2 separate regions of the Homo sapiens genome follow, and region 1 is linked to region 2. The links are contacts of gene promoters, found by promoter capture Hi-C in blood cells and fetal thymus (Javierre and others, 2016). All regions are on one chromosome and are shown on one strand. Each heading gives the region's core, a stretch centred on a gene start or on the middle of the fragment in contact. The rest is flanking DNA. Distances are from core to core; before and after follow the strand shown.

Region 1 (3,693 bases), core at 687-3,186, 280 kb after region 2:
CTGATCTGGGAGAAATAAAAAATTAGACAAGTTTGGATTAGGGAATTCTACTTCTTGTAGCTTTTCCATTTTCCAGCCTAGCCCCCTGGGAACCTGTTTCTGGCATAGGATATAATCAATGTCTGGAGTCCTCTCTGCATGTGAGGTCAGTCTTTATGTGTTGCAGCTATTGAAATACGTTTTCAGCCCAGAGTTACCTGGAGGATATAGCACCTGTCTTTGCTTGGATACTATAGGGAGAATAATTGCTTCATAGTCTTTCAAAGGATGAACTTTCATTATGTGTAATAGACTCTGGCAATGGTGCTAGCACAGCACTCATATTCTCTTCCTAACAATTTCTTGATATTTTCAGGGATTACTTCTTCCCCTGTGTGGGTGCTTTAGCTAGGACAAGTCAGGTCAGTTCTTCCCATCCTGTTTAGTTGCTGAGAGGGCATTTCCTTCCTCATGCCATCCTAATACAGCCTGGGAGTAGGCAGGAGACCCAAACTCTGTCAGTCAGATGCCCTTGTCTGAGACTTTGAATTCTGAGAGTGATGCAACACCAGAAAAAATGGTTGGCAGTCATGCATCTCAGCTGCTGTTCACTGATCAGATACTTATGCTTTATAAGTATAGTTGGCTTCTGCAGTCTCTGCTTCCAAGTCCCTAGAGATATCTTAGATGTTCTTGTACCAATTAGGGTTCTGGCTGCAAGCTACAGTACTGACTGTGGCTTTCTCAAGTAAGAGCAAGGAATGTATTGGAAGGATATGGAAACTAGAAATTGGTGGGAGGCTGAAGGACCAGACTTAGAACCTGGGCATGAACCAAACATGCTCTAGAGTGTTAAGAAGTAGGAAGCATGAAAATCAGATTTTAATAGAAACAGTCCACCAGAACAAATTTGCAGCTGCTGACACATGCTGCTATGTCATTAAACCACCCCCATAGCTACTTTGGGATTATTCTCTTTTTTTTTTTTTTTTGAGACGGAGTCTTGCTCTGTTGCCCAGGCTGGAGTGCAGTGATGTGATCTCAGCTCACTGCAAGCTCTGCCTCCTGGGTTCATGCCATTCTCTTGCCTCAGCCTCCCAAGTAGCTGGGACTACAAGCACCCACCACCATGACGGGCTAATTTTTTGTATTTTTAGTAGAGATGGGGTGGGATTATTCTTAATTGTCCTTTTGTCTCTACCACTCTCTGCAGATTCAAAGTGTCAAGTGGGATGGAGGGTGTGCCAAGACTGGGTCACGTACCCGGCCACTGATTTTGGATTCCACGCAGCCAGAAGTGGGCAGGCCCACCAAACTGCTGATTTCCACTCCAGGTTTCCCTAACTTCATGTGGGTTCTGCAAATTCCCAGTTTCCTTCCAATAACTTCTCTTTGTTCACTAGCCAGAAGCCTGTGTCTTATATATAAAGATCCCTCTACAATCAGGTAGGTATCATTCTTCCCACTGAACTCTGTTTATTGGTGCATCTTAGAACTTTGGAAATCTTGAATTCTAGACTGCGTATTTGTTCTTGACCCATCAGCTTGATTATAATGTTTAGGGGAGAAAACAATTTGTATGTCTTTTGCTTATAGCAGTTTATCGAGGACTGGCCACGAAGAGCATTTTCTACTTTCTTGGCCCTGGAGCTGGCAGTTCGCATTGAAGTGTCAGCAGTGAGCAAAGTCACCAGCACTTGGAGATGGGCCTGTAAAGTGAGTCAGTGTGGCCAATCCATTCCCACTGGGCACATTCAAGCTTGAGTACTTTTCTCTGAGGAGCTCATTACTGTGGGGGTAGGGAGGCAGTTTCAGGCAGTTTCATGTAAACATGAACGAGAAACCACTTTGCCCGCTACTAGAATTTGGTTAAGGAGATTTAACTAGTTCTGGGGAACCAGAACTCCCTGGGAAGCTGTGTGTAAAATGTGCTTGTGTGTAGGCACGCATGCTAACTTTTTGGAGGAGAGGGTCCCTGGTTTTTAGGAACCAATAGGGGTCTACAATATCCAAAAATACCCATTGAATTGTGTTGTGAATTCTGAGCTTCTTAAAAATGAAGAAGTGGTGTTAGCCACATAACTCTGAATTTACTAAAAACTATTGAATTGTATGTTTAAATGGGTAACTTGCACATATGTGAATGATAGCTCAAGAAAGCTTTTAAAAACTAACCCTTGGGCTGGGTGCGGTGGCTCATGCCTGTAATCCCAGCACTTTGGGAGGCCAAGGCCGGCGGATCACAAGGTCAAGAGTTAGAGAGCAACCTGGCCAACATGGTGAAACCCCGTCTCTATTAAAAATACAAAAATTAGCTGGGCGTGGTGGTGCATGCCTATAGTCCCAGCTACTCAGGAGGCTGAGGCAGGAGAATCACCTGAACCTGGGAGGTGGAGGTTTCAGTGAGCCAAGATTGCACCACTGCACTCCAGCCTGGCAACAGAGCGAGACTCTGTCTCAAAAAAAATAAATAAATAGAAATAAAAAGTAAAAAGTAACCCTTTAGTACTAACCTATTTTTGAGCTGGGGATTGCCTGAACGATGGGCTCATCTTGGGTCCTCAGTGAATTTGGGTATTATTGAGCTTCTTGGGATGTCATTGCCTGATACCCAAATACAGTCATTTGGTGGTGCTTCTAAGTGAGTTATTGGCTTTCAGTCCTGGACCGAGGACCATATCTAATCCCATGATGAGTAGAAGAAAAAGCTTATTTCATTTGCTGCCCTAAGAATGATTGTAGTTCTGGTAATGGGTGAAGATATGAGTGCACTGAAAGTTTAGCCAAAATCCTTCACTTTAATGAGCCTCAGTTCCCTCCAGCTGGTACTTGTCACCCTGTTAAGTGATCAGGACTCAAGATATTTTGTATTATTTGGGGGGAACTGCTATGTAGTGATATTGGGGACTATTGCACTCAAACTGAAACAAAAATCAGGAAAAATTAACGTTGGACCCTCCTGGGATCCTACAGAACACATCAGGCAATTAGGGGGTCAACATAGCGAGCATTAAGTAAAAATAAGTCGAATCTATCTTGTGTGTAGCCATAAAAATGCAAGCGTGCCCATATCCTGTTCATGGCTAATTCTTGGGTGGCTTCCATCACAGCTGCACAGAGTCTGAGCATGTGACCATGGCCTGGGTGGCCCTCTCACCTTGGCCCATTGCTCTGTTCCACCTGCTCCATGCCACATGCCCCTCCTAGCCCACCATGCTCTTTTTTCGTCTTTGAAGCTTTGTTTATGCTCCTTAGGATCACTCCGTTCCTCCTAGCCAGCTCCTCTTCTTTTCCACTCTGTAAAAGTTTGCCTGCTATTGTCTCTTCCAAGAGTCCTCCATGGCCCTGCAGAGTGCTTAGGTATCCTACTCCCAGCTTCTTACCATCACTTCCTTTACCACCCTGTGCCATTTGTAATGCCACTTCCTTACACCCATGTGCGCTTGTGTGGGCAGGAGGCTTTTTGAAGCTGTAGTGCCCTAAGTTACTTATACACAAAAATCCTGCAACTGCTCTCTCCCTGGGTAGTAGCTACTCTTGTAGCTACCCTCATTGAAGAGGTCAGTGAGAGCCAGGTCTGCCTGGAGATGGGGTAGAGGAGGCCCCACTGAGACTTGTGCTCTAGAGAACAGCTGGCTCCATATTCTGGAATTCAAGGGCTATGTTAGTTTCCTAGGGCTGCCACGACAAATTTTCATAAACTGGGGGGCTTAA
Region 2 (3,663 bases), core at 891-3,390:
GTTTGCCAAGAATGGAGCCACATACCCTCCTTCTTTCCCTCTTCCCCTCAGCTGAGCAGGGTCTCATGCTTCCAGATCCCCTGTGTTTCACTTCAGCTCCTTTAGCTAACCGAGTCTCGCTGCCCAAGGCCCATATTCCTTCTCTCATGAGCTGCTGGCTCTATCTGGTCCAGGAGGGTGAGTTCTTTCTTCCCTCTGGTCTTCAGGTTCCCCCTCCCAAGACCCAGCTTTTCTCTCTAGGTTTTCAGACCAACAGCACCCAGAGCCGATCCACTAACTCCTTCATCCTGGCCCCTCTCCCCACCCCAGGACCCCCAGCTGAATGCAATTCCTTATTACCTCCCACTCCTCCATCCTGATCAAAAGGTCATGTGACCAACCTTCTAGATTCTAGACACATCCGGGGGTGTGGGATAGAAGGCAGGTGTCCTTGAATCATGACCTAGCCTCAGCATCCCTCTAAATTAGTTGCATGTAACCCAATCTCCCCCACCTAGGCTTCACTGTGTTTCAATCTTTTTGAATAAAGCGGGCCATCTTTCTTTCTGTGTGTGACCTTGGAGTTACACATAAGCAGAATAGATGTGCATCTATTCTCCATCTAACAGGCTCAACAGACAATGCACTATTCCTCCTGTCAACAGACATTATTGACACTAGAGTCATAAAATGCATCTCCAAGATGGGGAAGTCAGTTCAAGAAAGAGTATCTGTATCACGAGTTTTCTCTTTACATTTCCAACTCCTTGGCTCTAGGGGTGTTGCCGCTACCCCTCATCTTCTAGGTTCAGGTGCTCAGCTCCTGTTTGTAGCCCCAGGACAAGACGTTACCTGGGAGATCTTTAGAAATGCAGAATCTCTCCCTATCCCACAACAGAATTGCACCTGCATAACCAGTGCCCCAGGTAGATCTGGCTGAGAAGCTATGATGAAGGGCAAGGTTTGCCAAATGTTCATGGGGACAAGTTCTCCAGCGACACTGGTTTAAAATAGGAATTCCGAAAAGGTCTGATTAATGAGTTTGGGGTGGAACCCAGGAAACTGGGCATTTATTTAAAACAATCTCTCCTGTGATTCTTAGAAAGTAAATTTATAATGGGGAGGGGTCAAAGATAAGCATCTGAAAACAATTTTCACGCAATGTGGAGCTTTGAGACAGCGTTAGTCTTCAGGTTCTTTTGTTGAATGGAATTTGTGGCATCTGGGAGTGGAGCAGAGACCACTTCCCAAACTCCTGTTCTTATTTTTTTAAATTCCAGCAATTCAGAAGGAATTAAAGTAAAAGACGTAAGTTCTCTGGTTGCTGATATCTGGTACCTGAGATCAAGGCAAGATCGCTTAAACCAGTAAAGTGAGGATTATGGGAGCAAACTCAGGAATAAAGAGGGTGAACCAGGCCTGGAAGGGGACACAGGTTTGGCGACCAGACGGGTCACCGCTTGGCCCGGCCTAATCCAACTGCGCACGTCGGTGGGCCACAGCATCGCAGCGCTGGATCCCCGGGTCGGCAGAGGCGGATGGAGTTCAGCCTCTTTTTCAAAACTGCCAAAGCCACCCGGTCTGCCAAACTCCCCCACCAGCCAGCTCTGGGGCAGCCCCCCGGAGCCCGCCCGCTCCGGTCCCCGGGACAAGGGCGCAATTGACCAGCGCGGGCCGCCTCTGGCCCACCCAGATGACGGCCAACTTTTTTTGTTTTTAAGCCATCAAATTCAATATTTACAGGAAAAACCCCATGCTTGGTTCTAAAACTACTGGCCACTCAAGAAACAGTTTACTTCTCACTTCTGCCCATAACAAGAAAAACATAGACTTGTGCCTTACTCTTAAAAAAATAATAATAATAAATATAGGTTTTTTAAAATTTATATATAATTTTTAAAACCCCGTTTGTTGCATGTGGTCCCTTTCCCTCCTGTTGTTGAGCAGAATAAAAGCCCATTTTGCCAGGGCCCGCAGTCCTGGCGGCCCCCGCAGCTGCGGCCCTGTAACTTTAAACCTGGCCTGAGATCATCGTTTTGGCGCCGGCCAAACAGAGCCCGAGGGCGGGCCTAGCGCGCCCGGACGGAGACCACCTTGCGGCCGACCCCGCTCCCCCGCCTCCTCGGGAGAGATAAATGCTGACTCCGCTCGGAAAGTTCTCAACTGCAAAGTTTGCTGTCCGGCTGCCTAGGGTCTGGGAAGCTCGGGCACCCTCCCTCTCCGGGGCTCCTGCTCCCACCCCTCCGGCCCCCCCACCGTCGCGCTCCTCCAGGCTGGGCCTGTGGCCGCGGTGCTTTTTAATTTTCCCCCAGCTCAGAATCTTGCTGCTCGGCCCCCAGGAGAGCAACAACTCAACGGGAACGATGTGGAAGGTGTCAGCTCTGCTCTTCGTTTTGGGAAGCGCGTCGCTCTGGGTCCTGGCAGAAGGAGGTAAGACCCAGCGCAAGTGGCTTCCTGCCGTCGCTGATGGGGACGAGCGAGCAGAGACTTGCTGGAATGCCCGGGCCTGGTATTCGAGGTTGTCCAGGGGAGCGCGGGGGAGCTGAGGGTGTGTGCGTGTCAGGCGGCTGAGCGCCGGAGGAGGAGAGGCAGCGGCTTAGTCGGTGCCAGGTCCCAAAGACGCAGCTGCGCGGGTGTGCCGGGAGGAGCCCCGGAATCCACAGGCTGCGAGGTGGGCAGCACAGGGGGCCTCCCTCCGAGTCGGCAGCACCAGAGAGATCGGGTGGAAGGTTCACAGTAGGCAGCCCCGCTTGCTGGCAGCAGTGGCTGGGGTTTCCTTCCCATAGAGCGGTGTGTTGGAGGAATACGCACGCCTCGGGAGAAGCTGGCCTCGTAGAATCAGGAGGGACGTTCAGGAGGGCTTGGGCCAAGGGGAGGGTTCCCCGCCCTGCGGTGGCCCTGGTCCCCCTTGGGACTACCTAGTCTGGCGCCCTGCCTGTTGGACACACTCAGCACCCCGTCACTGGACTGGAAGAGGCCTCCTTTATCCTCTTTAGAGAGGATAGTGTGTGTGGAAAGGATCCAAGTGGAGGCTTCCGAGGAGTGTGAGTGCATGAGGATTGTTACGCGTTACGAACATTGAGGTTTAAGTGGGTTTGAGCCACGTGTTCATCTTGGGCAACAACATCAGTGGCTGAATGTCTGTTGGTGACTCCTTAGGCTTTAAATATTTTGTATCCCATGTTGGGGTGGGGGCGTCCACAGCTTCCATTACCCTTTGTCCTCTCCTGGAGCCTTACCTCTTCCCGCTGGGTTGCTGTGTTGGTGGTCTCCATTGACATCTGTCAACATTTTGTTTTCTTTTCTTGGGTTTTTATTTTTATATTTCCTCAATAGAACATATGTTCTGCAGGACGCAGCTACATCCAGCCATGATTCCCCACGGCCAAAACAATGCCTGGCACATAGTAGTTGCTCACTAAATGTTGGTTGAAGGAATTGTAACCTAACTCGTGATCTTTGGGGCTGGAGGTTGCTGAGTTATGCTGTGAAAAGTAAACATTTTCCAAAAATTGAGGATCAAGGTAGGCCTAGGCCCTGAGGAATACTTCTTGGAGAGGGAGCGGTTTGCAGGAGGGGTGCGCCTAACCTGGCCTCCTACAATGGTCCACACAGACAAAAATACCCAATCTCAGGGAAATGACAGAGTTCTGCTCTATGCTGTGCTGTCTGCTTCAAAGGGAC

Evidence for each region. Contacts are between HindIII fragments. The CHiCAGO score rates a contact against its expected background, and 5 or more counts as called.
Region 1: a fragment that was not itself captured here is called in contact with the fragment with the promoter of PDPN in region 2 in 2 of 17 cell types (total B cells and naive B cells); the score reaches 5.8 in total B cells.

The regions. Positions count from the first base shown.
Region 1 is chr1:13,863,251-13,866,943 of GRCh38, forward strand. No RefSeq gene overlaps it. Among named protein-coding and RNA genes, the nearest start is that of PRDM2, 160 kb to the left of the region's middle. The HindIII fragment of the contact is 401 bases long and covers 1,737-2,137 here.
Region 2 is chr1:13,581,692-13,585,354 of GRCh38, forward strand. It overlaps PDPN (podoplanin), which reads left to right and starts at 2,141. Exons shown (of 6, transcript NM_006474.5): 1 at 2,141-2,409. The coding sequence starts at 2,343. RefSeq lists an enhancer at 2,044-2,582. The HindIII fragment of the contact is 6,524 bases long and covers 1-3,663 here.